Linked DNA regions of Homo sapiens: region 2 is linked to region 1. Evidence: promoter capture Hi-C in 16 types of primary human blood cells and fetal thymus (Javierre and others, 2016). All regions are on one chromosome and are shown on one strand. The core of a region is centred on a gene start or on the middle of the fragment in contact, and the rest is flanking DNA. Distances in the headings are between cores, read along the strand shown. Region 1 holds the start of RBM19 (RNA binding motif protein 19). Region 2 holds the start of DHX37 (DEAH-box helicase 37).

The links. The method cuts DNA at HindIII sites, captures the fragments that hold promoters and counts their contacts. A CHiCAGO score of 5 or more calls a contact.
Region 2: the fragment with the promoter of DHX37 here is called in contact with the fragment with the promoter of RBM19 in region 1 in 1 of 17 cell types (naive CD8 T cells); the score reaches 12.3 in naive CD8 T cells.

Annotation. Positions count from the first base shown.
Region 1 is chr12:113,965,075-113,972,550 of GRCh38, reverse strand. RBM19 (RNA binding motif protein 19) reads left to right here and starts at 6,226. Exons shown (of 24, transcript NM_016196.4): 1 at 6,226-6,359. The coding sequence starts at 6,324. RefSeq lists enhancers at 5,920-5,989, 5,948-6,875, 6,876-7,476. The HindIII fragment of the contact is 5,534 bases long and covers 5,330-7,476 here.
Region 2 is chr12:124,986,337-124,993,070 of GRCh38, reverse strand. It overlaps DHX37 (DEAH-box helicase 37), which reads left to right and starts at 3,940. Exons shown (of 27, transcript NM_032656.4): 1 at 3,940-4,154. The coding sequence starts at 4,049. RefSeq lists enhancers at 356-856, 5,477-6,020 and a silencer at 4,027-4,236. The HindIII fragment of the contact is 16,586 bases long and covers 1,263-6,734 here.

The sequences.
Region 1 (7,476 bases), core at 4,977-7,476:
GTTTTAATAAAGGCAGTTCATGAAAATAATAAAAGTATGTGAAACTAGGACTGGCTGGGCAACATTGGCCCTCTTGTAAAACTAATATCTCAGAGCTGCCTCATAAAGCCTGCCCCAGCCCACCCTAACGAGGGTCACGGTTTAGAGCAAACAACCCCCCAGTTGTCATTTAATTCATATCACATATCAATAAATATCTGTTAAATATCACAGTGTGCAGGAAACAACCCTCCAGTTATTATTTAATTAAAGACATAACAATAAATATCTGTTGACTTTGAAACACAGTGACCCGTAAGTCATCGACTCCAGGCTTGAGGGTACATTTTTACATGCATATGTGTTTTAATTGAATAGACAGTCTACACAAGACAGAGAGAGGGTGAAATCTGATCTTCAGAGTAGACTACTACAAAGCAAGCAGATCTCATGGGTCGAACAGCAGCCCCCAAAAGATATGCCTACATCCTAATCCTCAAAACCTGTGAATGTGACTCTTTTTGGAAAAAGGGTCTATGCAGATATAATCACCTATGGATCTCAAGATGAGATTGACCTGGAGTTACAGTGGGTCCTAAGCTTAATGGCAGGTGTCCTGCTAAGAGGAAGCATAGGGAGGTGGATTTGACTCAGACACCAGAGTGGAGAAGGTCATGTGAAAACAGAGGCAGAGACGGACGCTATGCAGCCACAAGCCAAGGAATACCTACCGCCACCAGAAACTGGAGGAGACAAAAAAGGATCCTTCCACTTTGAGCCTTTGGAGAGACCACTGCGCTGCTGACACCTTGATTTTAAATTCCTGGCCTCCAGAACTGCAAGAGAATACACTTCTGTTGTTTGAAGCCATCCAGTTTCTGGTAATTTGATATAGAAGCCCTAGAAAATCAATACACCCCATAATCCTGTAACTTAAAACTATAGCTCATGGGGTGGCTTCCTGGTTTTGTAAATAAAGTTTTATTGGAACACGGCCACAGATGTTAGCTCTGGATGTGTTCAAAATACAGTAGCAGGATGCAGAAGTTGCATTAGAGACCACATAGTGAAATACTCTCTGACTTTTTAAGAAAAAGTTTGCCAATCTCTGATTTAAAACATATACAGACCGGGCATGGTGGCGTGCACCTGTGATCCCAGCACTTTGGGAGGCCAAAGCGAGAGGATCACTTGAGCCCAGAAATTTGAGACCAGCCTGGGCAACAAAGCCAGACCCTGTCTCTACAAAAAATTTAAAAATTAGCTGGGTGTGGTAATGCATGCATGTAGTCCCACCCACTTCGGAGGCTGAGGAAGGAGGATCACTTGTGCTCAGGAGATCAAGGCAGCAGTAAGGCCTGATCACACCACAGCACTCCAGTCTGGGCAACAGAGCAAGACCTTGTCTCAAAAAAAAAAAAAAAAAAAAAAAAAAGGCCAGACACAGTCACTCATGCCTGTAATCCAAGCACTTTGGGAGGCCAAGGCAGGTGGATCACTTGAGGTCTGGAATTTGAGACCAGCCTGGCCAACACAGTGAAACCCATCTGTAATAAAAATACAAACAATTAGCCAGGCACGGTGGTGTGCACCTATAATCCCAGTTACCGTCTCAAAAAAAAAAAAAGACAAAACCCAAAATAAATACATAAAGATTTACTGGGCTCCCTACAATTTCACCCCTCCAAAGCCATCCTGCAGAAATGCCCACAATTAATATACATGCTTGTTGACTTTACCCTATGGTTAAGTATAAATATATGCAGATGTAGTTTATACATGATTAACATTTTAATGTATTAAAAATAATAGGTAATTTTTTCATAATGAAATATCAAAATTATAAAAGGTTACTCAAGGTAAAGGACATTTCCATCCATCCGTATACTCACTTCCTCGGTCCCCTCCCCAGAAGCAACTGCTGTTACCACTTCCTCATGTATCTTTTGAGATCGCCTTTGCTTACATAAATCATATATAGTGTCCCCTCCAAATTCCTATGTTGGAGTCTTAACTTTTCATACCTCACAAAGTGATGTTATTTGGAAATAGAGTGTTTACAGAGGTAACTATATTAAAATGAGGTCATTAGAATTAGCTTTAATCCAATGTCTTTTAAAATGGGGAAGTTTGAACATGAACTCATGGACACAGGGAGACTGTCATGTGGAGATGAAGGCTGAGATCGGGGTGACATGTCTACAGGCCAAAGAGTGTCAAAGATTGCCAGCACACCACCAGAAGTGAGACAGGGAGGAACAGATTCAACCTCACGGCTCTCAGAAGGAACCGGCGCTGCCAACACCTTCATCTCGAACTTCTAGCCTTCAGAACTGCAAGACAATACATTTGGAAATTTACGACTACCCTGGCCTACAAACATGACAAGTATCTATGTATCCTCACCCATCTCCCTCCTTTTTTTGTGTGTGTGTTTTGTTTTTACCTAAGTGAAAGCATACATAATACATTATTTAGTATATTGCTGGTTTTCACTTAACAATATATTTTGGAGATTGTCCCATGTCCCATGTGCTAGTTCTTCTCTAACAGCCCATCTCCCATTCCCTGAGCCTGCTCCTCCACTTTGCTCTGTGCCCCAGATGCAATCTGTGTGCACTGCAACATCTGTGATCATGCCTCCAGCTTCCCATTGGTTCGGCCAAGGGGAGGCTCCAGTAGGAAACTGCAGTTGGGAAGAGAAAGAGGGGACAGTGTATTTATCCCCGACACACACACACCTGTGGTTCCACAGTGGCTGTATCTCTCTATAGCTCTAGTCCTTAAAGTACGTCCCTCTTCCATGGCTCCTGGCATCACTGAAGCTCAGGAATGACATGTCCTACTCTGCCCTTCAGCCCCAGGGGTGGTGATAGCTCCCCACTGTTGCCAGGCCCTGGGGTTTGGCCATCCTTTGTTGGTTCCCTTAACCCTTCCTGTATTCATTTGCTGCAGGTGCTGTCTCAAATTACCACAAATTAGATGGCATAACAATGCAAAGTTATTCTCTCACATTTCTGGAGGCCAGAATCCCCCAAAGCACCAGCAGGGCCATGCTCCCTCCAAAACCTCCAAGGGAGAACGCTTCCTTGCTTCTTTCAGCTTCTGGTGGCTCCAGGTCTTCGTTGACTTGTGACTGCATCACTCCAGACTCTACCTCCACCTACACATGACGTTCTCTGTGTGTCCTTTAAAAGGACATGTGTCATTGGATTTAGGGTCTACCAGGATAATTCAGGATGATCTCATTTTGAGACCCTTAAGTACATTTGCAAAGACCCTTGATATGGTTTGGCTGTGTCCCCACCAAATCTCATCTTGAATTGTAGCTCCCATAATCCCCACGTGTCCTGGGAGGGACCCAGTGGGAGATAATTGAATTATGGGGGTGGTTTCCCCATACTGTTTTCGTGGTAGTGAATAAGTCTCACGAGATCTGATGGTTTTATAAGGGGAAAGCCTTTCACTTGGTTCTCATTCTCTCTTTGCCTGCCACCAGGTAAGACATCCCTTGCTCTTCCACCATGATTGTGAGGCCTCCCCAGCCATGTGGAACTGTGAGTCCATTAAATCTCTTTCCTTTATAAATTACCCAGTCTCAGGTATGTCTTCATTAGCAGCGTGAGAACAAACTAATACAACACTTTTTTGCAAATAAAGTCACATTTACAGCTTCCAGGGGTCAGGATGCCCCCAGTGTGTGTGGTGGTGAGGGGACAGGGGATCATTCATCCCACTACACTGCCCACCCTTCTGTAAATAGCTTTTTGTCCAGATTTGCTTTTGTTAAATCCTTTTGAGTATACCTCTGTGTCCTGCTGACTGATGCATTTCCTTCAAAAACATTTATAGCTACATACCTACCGTTTTTTAACAACTGCATAGAATTCTGTTGAATGGACAGACCTTAATTTACAATTAGCATTTAATGAACTCCTATTACCTGTCTCCTCCTGGTGCCCAGTGTGATGCTTTGCAAAGATGGATCTAAGGATGCCCCTATGGCAACATAATGTAGAAAGAACAAGTGGCCTCATCTATAACTCTGAACCTACACTGTGCGCTCCTCACCAGCGAGTTCTGTAGGTTTATGCTGTGGCAGATGCATGAGCTCCCTGCATTTGGGGCTCAGTAGGAAAGAGGCATATTCGAGGATGCCATGTTTGAGCTGGTCTTAGAGAGGGGATGGGAATGGGTTCAGAAAGATATTCCAGTGGCCAAAAGCACATGAAAGATGCTGTTTCATTAGTTATCGGGGAAATGCAAATCAAAACATTGAGTCACCACTGTACACCCACTAGAGTGGCTATGATTATAAAGACCCAATAACAAACACTGGAGGAGATGTGGAGATATTTGAACCTTCATATACCGCTGGTAGGAATATAAAATGGGGAAGCCACTTTGGATAACAGGTTAGCAGGTTCTAAAAAGGTTAAGCATAGAGTTACCATATGATCAGGCAATCCTACTCCTAGGAATATATCCAAGAGAAATAAGAACATATGCCCACACAGGAACTTACAGGTAAATGTTCACGGCAAGATTATTCACAGTAGCCACAAAGCGGAAACAACCCAAATGTCCATCATCAACTGATGAATAAATAAAATGTAATACATCCATATATGTAATACTATTCAGCAAAAAAAGTGTGGTGGCTCACGTCTGTAATCCCAGCACTTTGAAAGTTCAAGGCAGGTGGATTGCTTGAGCCCAGGAGTTCAAGACCAGCCTGGGCAACATGTTGAAACCTCGCCTCTACCAAAAAATTACCAAAAAAAAAAAATTAGCCAGGCATGGTGGCATGTGCCTGTAGTCCCAGCTGCTCAGGAGGCTGAGGTGGGAGGATGGCTTGAGCCTGGGAGGCGGAGGTTGCAGTGAGCTGAGATTGTGCCACTGCACTCCAGTCGGGGTGACAGAGCCCGACCCTGTCTCAAATAAATAAACAGATAAATAAAGTGCTGATTCATGCTGCAACATGGAAGAACTTTGAAAACATTATGCTAAGTGAAAGAAGTCAATTACAAAAGACTACATATTGTATTATTCCATTTACATGAAATGTCCATAACAGACAAATCCATAGAGACGGAAAGTAGATTAGTGGTTATCAGAGGGAAGGGAGAGGGAGGAATTGGAAGGTTATAGCTAAAGGGTGTGGTGTTTCTTTGGGGGTAATGAAAATGTCCTAGCATTGATTGTGGTGATGGCTGCACACCTCTGTAAATATAGTCAGCACCATTGAATTGTGCACTTTAAGTGGGTGAATTGCATGGTTTGTGATAAAGCTGTTAACAATAAGAAGGGGGGACGGAATGTCTTTTAGGTGAAGGAAATTGCAGAAGCTTGGCAGCAACGTCCAGTGCAGCTGAGGCACTGTGGGGAAACAGAAAGGAAATACCGTCATTTAAGAGTGAAAATAGGGGTTTTCATAGGATGTCTCCATCCAAGAGTAGGTACCGAGAATGCTCAGAGAAGCAATAGGAAAATAACATCCCTTTCACGTTCTCACCTCCTTAACCCCTAGCATAATAAAGAATTATTCCCATTTTATAGAAGTAGACACAAAGGCTCAGAGGCCATTTTGGCCAAGATCTCTCAGCTAGAAGATTGGCCAGCTGAGAGTTCCAAACATTAGGAAGGGAGGCAAAATGCTTGTGGGGCTGGGGTTGAAGGCGTAGAGACTCATTGTAGGGCCCTAGGCAGTCCCTAGCTCGAATCTGACTTTCCAATTCATAGTTATAAGACTTTGAGCAAGCTGCTTTACACGCACGATTCCCAGTTTATCTGCCTGCAAAATGAGAGCGTTTATTTCCAACATGTTCATTCCAAGTATTTACACAAAAGGCTCAATACTTGATTTGTGTTGGCTGGCAATCTCTCTAAACTTCACTTTCCCCATTTCTACGAGGAAGGCAAGGGTCCCTAATCTTGCCCCCGTTCTCAGGGGAGTCCTAAGGCTCAATAATAAAAATAAAATAAGAAAAAGGAGAGAACGCGATTGCCCGGTTGGCGCGACCCTTAACACCGAGCTAAACCGGCGCATGTTAGGGACCGGCGCCCCCTGCCGCCTTCTCCGCTGCATTGGCGTCTCACAGAATCCGCCCAAGGCCCTGCGCCTGCGCAAAATGCAAGCGCCCAGGCCCACCCCTTGTGGGGTGTGACCTCCCTGAGTAGTTTTGGATTAGCCACGCCTACTTCCGGACAGGTCAGGCCAAGGTCTCAGCCACGTGACTGTGTTCCGGCTCGGTAAAGATGGCGGCGCCCAGGGCGGTAGCGTGAAACTTGGTGGAAGACGCTGACCAGTCGTGTTGGAATCAAAACAGCGGGGACCCTGCGCCATGTCGCGACTGATCGTGAAGAATCTCCCGAATGGGGTGAGTGCAGAGGCAGGACTTGGGAATCTGAAATGAGACCAGCCGGGAGCTGTGAGGTAGGGAAGAGATGCCTGGAGGTGATCGAAGAATTTTTGCTCTGGGGCAGGACTCCGGGCCAATTCTGAACTCAAAGGGGGCGGGATCCTGGGCTTATCCCCATTTGATCCCGAGGAAAGAGGAATAGTGACTGCTTACGGTTTCACGGCCGGTTGTTTGGTACCTGACTCCTAACACACCTCTTCTCGGGGAGATGACAACTCCCACCTTGTGGCGAATACCCTGCTCCCACAACCTCTTTCATTCGATCACTGTTTTTTAGTTGTTGACCCGGGACATGGTCCGACACTGTATTTATATTCCTCTCCCAGTCTGGAAACTGTTGGGGAAGACATGGGGAATATTAATCTGCGGACCTGCGTTCCAATTCCCACTCCCATCCTTAGGGCAAGTAGGAATACGGAGTGGGTAAAGGGCTTTACAGCATTTATCCAGTAAGTGGGGAGTGGTGACCCAGCCATACTTTTTTGTTTCCCTGGAGCCCAGCGCAGAACCCGACACGTGGTAGGCAAAATAGGTGAATGTACGTAATATTAGATGATTAGATGCGGTGGGCTCGAATGGATCATCCTTTTTTCTCTCTCTCGCTGTTTTTTGTTCTGTTTTGTTTTTTTGTTTTTAAATGGATTACTGCTCCTTCCATCAGGTTAGACAGTGTCTCTTGATGCCTCGCTTTGTGGGATGAGGATTTTTAGCGTAGCTGCACTTCCTTTCCCTCCCAAATTCAGCTTTGTTGTGTTTCAAGTGTAGTTGATTCTCTTATCATTGTTTGTCTTATCTCTTTTTTTTCTCTCTCTTTCATGGCTTTTTTTGGTTTTGTTTTTTGTTTTTTTCTTTTTTTGTTTTTTTTTTTTAAACGGAGTCTGGCTCTGTCTCCCAGGCTGGACTGCGGTGGAGCAATCTCGGCAGTCTCGGCTCACTGCAACTTTTGCCTCCCGGGTTCTAGCGATGCTCCTGCCTCAGCCTCCCAAGTAGCTGGGACTACAGACACGCGCCACCAAGCCCGACTAATTTTTTTATTTTTAGTAGAGACATGGGGTTTCGCCATGTTGGACAAGTT
Region 2 (6,734 bases), core at 2,691-5,190, about 11 Mb before region 1:
GGGCTAAGCCGCGAAGTCCCGGTCCCGCCAATCGATCTTAGTGCCAGGAAGTACCAGCGCCACCTGCGATGGATTCTTGCCAAGACAAGTTGAGCATGAACCTGATGGGGCCTCTAGATCAAACCTACAGTTTACAGGAAATATGGCAGATAAGGAAAACTTAGAAGCAGCAGAAGCAACCAACCAACTCCAGCATGTGGGGCATTCTACCAAACAAACGACCCAGTTTGTTCAATAAATAATTGGTATAAAAGGTGAGCGAAGAGGAGGATAATTGGTTTTAAAGACTTAAGAGCCATAATAACCCATGCAATGCAAGGACCCTGTTTGCATCCTAAATCAAACAAATCAAGTCTAACCAACATTTTTTTTAGACAACCAAGAAAATAAAACTCAATTTTTGCCAATCCAAAGAATACAAAATGCTCTTATTTTTGAATTTACATTTTCTGGATTCCTAGTAAGATTTTCATAGATTTATTGGCCATTTGAATTACTTCTCTGTGAATTACCTATTCATATCCTTTGCACATTTTTTCCTGTATTGTTTATCTTTTTAAAAACTTTTTTGTAGGTCGGGTGCGGTGGTTAACGCCTGTGATTCCAGCACTTTGGGAGGCTGAGGCGGGTGACCTGAGGTCGGGAGTTCGAGACCAGCTTGACCAACATGGAGAAATCCCTCCGTCTCTACTAAAAATACAAAATGAGGCCAGGCGCCGTGGCTCACGCCTGTAATCCCAGCACTTTGGGAGGCCGAGGCGGGCGGATCACAAGGTCAGCAATTTGGGAGGCCGAGGCGGGCGGATCACGAGGTCAGGAGATCGAGACCATCCTGGCTAACACAGTGAAACCCCGTCTCTACTAAAAATACAATAGCCGGGCGTGGCGGCGGGCGCCGTAGTCCCAGCTACTCAGAGCCTGAGGCAGAAGAATGGCGTGAACCCGGGAGGCGGAAGTTGCAGTGAGCCGAGATCGTGCCACTGCACTCCAGCCTGGGCGACAGAGCGAGACTCCGTCTCAAAAAAAAAAAAAAAAAAAAAAAAAAATCCAAAATGAGCCAGTTATGGTGGTGCCTGCTTGTGATCCCAGCTACTCGGGAGGCTGAGGCAGGACAACCGCCTAAACCTGGGAGGCGGAGGTTGCAGTGAGCCGAGACTAAGCCACTGCACTCCAGCCTGGGCAACAAGAGTGAAACTCCGTCCCAAAAACAAAACAAAACAAAACAAAAACCTTTTTTTACGCCAGGTGTAGTGGCACAAGCTTGTTTTGGGAGGCCAAGGCAGGAGGATTGCTTGAACACAGGAGTTCGAGGCCAGCCTGGCCAACATAGTGAAACCTATCTCTATAAAAAATGATAATAATAATAATAATAATAAACTTTTTAATTAAGGTATAACATACAGAAAAATACACAATCATATAAATTTTTATGAATTTTCACAAACTGAATACCCAAGGTAACCAGCACCCAAATCAAGAAACGAAACATTACCAGTTCCCCCACGAAGCCTCCCTTTGTCCCCTCCCATTCACTATGTTCCTCTTAAAATTTAGGGGATTCATTTGCCTGTGTTTGAAGTTTATGTAAATGAACCACACAGTACTCTGGGGGTTGGCTTCTTTTGTTCAACTTTTTTTTTTATTTATTTTTTATTTTTTGAGACGGAGTCTTGCTCTGTTGCCCAGGCTGGAGTGCAGTGGCATGATCTCGGCTCACTGCAACCTCCGCCTCCGGGGTTCAAGCGATTCTCCTGCCTCAGCCTTCCGTGTAGCTGGGACTATAGGCACGCGCCACCACACCCGGCTAATGTTTGTATTTTTAGTGGAGACAGGTTTCGCCATGTTGGCCAGGCTGGTCTCAAACTCCTGACCTCAGGTGATCCGCCTGCCTTGGCCTCCCAAAGTGCTGGAATTACAGGCGTGAGCCACCACGCCCAGCTTTTGTTCAACTTTATATTTGTGAGATCCATCCATGCTGTTATGTATCTGCCTTCTTCTTGCTGTCTAGAATGGTCTATACCTTCTGGAAGGTAATTCACTGATATATTATATTTTAGAAGGAAATATAGGCAAGTGTACTACTACCTACTTAACATTTTTTAAACGTTTCTTAAACTTTTAATTTATTTAAATAAACATATTTAAAGAAGAAACTTTAGATCACTATCATCCTGAGCAACAAAATCCATAAAAACACAGATTTGAGCCTGGGTGCAGTGGCTCAGGCCCGTAATCTCATCATTTTGAGAGGCCAAGGTGGGCCGATCACTTGATGTCAGGAGTTTGAGACCATCCTGGCCAACATGGTGAGACCCCATCTCTACTAAAAATACAAAAATTAGATGGGCATCTTGGTGGGTGCCTGTAATCCCAGCTACTTGGAAGGCTGAGACAGGAGAATCGCTTGAACCCGAGAGGTGGAGGTTGCAGTGAGCCGAGACTGCTCCACTACACTCCAGCCTGGGCGTCAGAGGGAGAGTTCTGTCTCAAAAAAACAAAAACAAGCAAACAAACAAAAAACCCCATAGATTTGATACGCTAATTATGATTTTTTTAAACGTCATTCATTAAGGCCTTCACAGTGGCTTATGCCTGTAATTCCGGCACTTTGGGAGGCCGAGACAAACGGATCCCTTGAGCCCAGAATTTTGAGACCAGTCTAAGCAACATAGGGAGACACCATCTCTACAAAAAAATAGAAAAATTAGCCCGTCGTGGTGGTGTGTGCCTGTAGTCATAACTACTCAGGAGGCTGAGGTGGGAGGACAGGTCAAGGCTGCAGCGAGTGGTGATTGCACCACTGCACTCTGGCCTGGCCCACAGGGCGAGATCTCATCTCTTAAAAAAAAAAAAAAAAAAGTCGGGCGCGGTGGCTCATGCCTGTAATCCCAGCACTTTGGGAGGCCCAGGCAGGCAGATCACGAGGTCAGGAGTTTGAGACCAGCCTGGCCAACATGGTGAAACTCCGTCTCTACTAAAATACAAAAACTAGCTGGGGGTGGTGGCGGGCACCTGTAGTCCCAGCTACTCGGAAGGCTGAGGCAGGAGAATCGTTTAAACCCGGGAGGCAGAGGTTGCAGTGAGCCGAGATTGCTCCACTACACTCCAGCCTGGGCAACAAAGCCAGACCTTGTCTCAATAATAATAATAATGCATTGTTTCCCAGTGTGTTACAATGTGATGCGGTAATGGGAATTTAAAGTTATGTAATAGACAACTTTATTTTTTTTTTTTTGAGACAGAGTCTAGCTCTGTTGCCCAGGCTGAAGTGCAGTGGTGCAGTCTCGGCTCACTGCAACGTCCACCTCCCGGGTTCAATCAATTCTCTGCCTCAGCCTCCCAAGTAGCTGGGATTACAGACGCCTGCCACCAGGCCTAGCTAAATTTTTTTTGTATTTTTGGTAGAGACGGGGGTTTCACCATCTTGGCCAGGCTGGTCTTGAAATCCTGACCTCGTGATCCGCCCGCCTCGGCCTCCAAAAGTGCTGGGATTACAGGCGTGAGCCACCGCGCCCGTAGAGGCCTCCTTTTAGATCTTCCATCTATCCCTGTGATGGAAATATTTGGTGCCTTTTTAAAAGTACACGACTAATACGTTTCTTGTAGGAATATCAGAAAATACAGATGCGCAAACCAGGGTTGGGGGGAAGAAGTTTGGAGTACTGGGGGCGGGGTATATTTTAAAAGGTGGCAAAACACTTCCACTCCCAAGAAGCCAAATTAGTATCAGTAGATATAATTCATATTTAAACCCAGACTACCCCAAGCGAGAACAGCCCAGGACTTAAACTCCGGCCTCCGCTGGGACCTCAGGCCCCGCCTACTTCTCTAAATAGTCCCGCCCCCTGCCCGGCCCGGCTCCGCCTCTCCTCTTCGCTGGGTTTCTCTTGCAACCCCGCCCCTCAGCGGCAAAGTCAGTTACAGTTCTCGCGATAACACAACCCGGAAGTCTCACGGCCGGAGTTGGTGGTCTGGGAACCCACGTGGGCTGGGTTTCGGATTGCTCTGCTGGTCCGGCCGCTGGAGCGCCCACCCTGGCCTAGTCGCCATGGGGAAGCTGCGCCGGCGCTACAACATCAAGGGGCGCCAGCAGGCGGGCCCCGGACCCTCGAAGGGCCCCCCCGAGCCGCCCCCCGTGCAGCTGGAACTGGAGGGTAAGACATCCCCGGACCGGGGCTGGATTTCGGAGATTTCCCAGGGCGGCCTGTGCCCTGCCTTCAGGACTCTCGGGTGGGGATCCCAGAGGGGTGGGATGGATCATCTGGAATGGGGGAATGGGTCCCCCCATTCCAGATGATCCAAAGGAGAGGGGCTTAGTGACAGCCTAGTTTTAACAGTGTATATGGAATACCCGGGATTTCTCTCGCCCTCAAATAGTAACATGGAGAATTTGGCAAAAAAAACAGGAGTAGTTCCATCCCTTCCCATGACTTCGATTATAATCTCTTTATAATCTCCAGCGACCCCCAAATGTGTATTTTCAGCCCAGTCTTGTCTGCTCAGCTCCAGGCTGGCTGACATTTCTCTCAGACCCCTTTTTAGGAGTAGCCCTTATTACATGCCAGGCACTATTCTAGGCACTGGAGACATAGCAGAAAGGGAGATTTTTAGAAAATCCCTGAGTTTACCTGCTGTATAGGAGGAGACAGGCAAAGAATAAACATATAGAAATTTATGCGGCTATAGTGAGCAGATAAAACAGAAGAGGCCATTGGGTGGGTTGCAGCATCCCATAGAGTTGCTGGAGAAGACATCACTCTGTTAGAGTCAAGATCTGAAGGAGACCTGAGTGGCTGCCTGGAGATGAGAGAAAAAACAGGGGGCCAGGGCAGGTCGGGCCTGGACTGCAGTCTTGGCGAGGACTGGGGCTTTTTCTCTACGGGAGAGGGCAGCCATGGGAGCATTTAGAGCAGAGGAGGCGTGGTGGTGGGCACCTGTAGTCCCAGCTACTTGGGAGGCTGAGGCAGGAGAATGGCTTGAACCCAGGATACGGAGGTTGCAGTGAGCCAAGATCGCACCACTGTACTCTAGCCTGGGTGAGAGAGCGAGACTCCATCTCAAAAAAAAAAAAAAAAAAAAAAAAGTTCCACAGACAGGCTGGGAGTTGAGGCAGATCCCCTAACATCTCTGTGCCTTCGTTTTCACATCTGCAGAATGGGACCAGTAGCACACGTTGAGCAGCCTTAATCCAAAATACTCCAAAATTCAAAAGTTTTTGAGTGTCAACATGACACTTAAGGAAATGCTCATTGGAGCATTCCAGATTTCAAATTTTTAGATTAGGGATGCTCAACCAGTGAATAGAATACAGATGTTCCTAAAGCTAAAACAGGTCTGGTTCCTAGCATTTCTGGAAAGGGATATTTAACCTGTAGTAGCCGTCTTACCTCCTATCAGAGTTTTGGAGATGGTAATTTGGGAAAATATGTTGCTTTGAAAAGTAAAGAAAGGTTACAGAGGTGGGGTGTGTCCCAGGACAGGTGACAACCGTTATGATGGCAGTGACAATTCAGGATGGCACCTCAAAGACAGCCGTAGACACTGGGCTGACACTTGGAACTGGACCACCTGAGCAGAGGGGCTGAGGTCTCTCAGACCCAGAGATTTGGGGAAAGTTGTTTCTCACATCAGAACAGGACATTTCCATGTATCCCTGCCTTTCTCAGGGGCCAGAGGAATCTCATAAGAACATGACTCAGATTACCTTCTTTTATTTATTTATTTATTTGAGATGGAGCCTTGCTCTGTCGCCTAGGCTGGAGTGCAGTGGCGTGATCTCTGCTCACTGCAACCTCCACCTCCCGGGTTCAAGCAGTTCTCGTGCCTCAGCCTCCTGTGTAGCTGGGATTATAGGTGCATGCCATCACACCTGGCTAGTTTTTGTATTTTTTGTAGAGACGGGATTTTGCCATGTTGGCCAGGCTGGTCCCCAACTCCTGGCCTCAGGTGATTTTCCCAAAGTGCTGGGATTGCAGGCGTGCGCCACCGCGCCCGGCCCCACCGTACACTCTTAGGAGAACATCAGGCTGGGTGCAGTGGCTCACGCCTGTAATCCCAACACTTTGGGAGGCTGAGGCGGGTGGCTCACTTGGGGGTCAGGAGTTCGAGACCGCCTGGCTAAGATGGTAAAACCCCGTCTCTACTAAAAATACAAAAATTAGCTGGGGCGTGGTGGTACATGCCTGTAATCCCAGCTACTTGGGAGGCTGAGGCGGGAGAATTGCTGGAACCTGGGAGGCGGAGGTTGAAGTGAGCTGAGATTGCGCCACTGCACTCTAGTCTGGGGGACAAAGTGAGACACCGTCTCAAAAAAACAAAAAGAGAAAATCATAGTATTTTTTGGGGGGTTTTCTTTTTTTTGAGATGGAGTCTCACCCTGTCGCCCAGGCTGGAGTGCAGTGGCAAGATCTCGGCTCACTGCAACCTCCACCTCCCAGTTTCAAGAGATTCTCCTGTCTCAGCCTCCCAAATAGCTGGGATTGCAGGCACCCACCACCACACCTGGCTAATTTTTGTATTTTTAGTAGAGACAGGGTTTCGCCACATAGGCCAGGCTGGTCTCGAACTCCTGACCTCAAGTGAGCCACCTGCCTCAGCCTCCCAAAGTGCTGGGATTACAGGCATGAGCCCCTGCGCCAAGCCTTGAGAACATCATAGTATTGTTATGAAAATAGATTTGAGCTCACAGATCCCCCTGTTCCTGTGTGCAGACTCAGGAGGCCCCCATGCAAGTC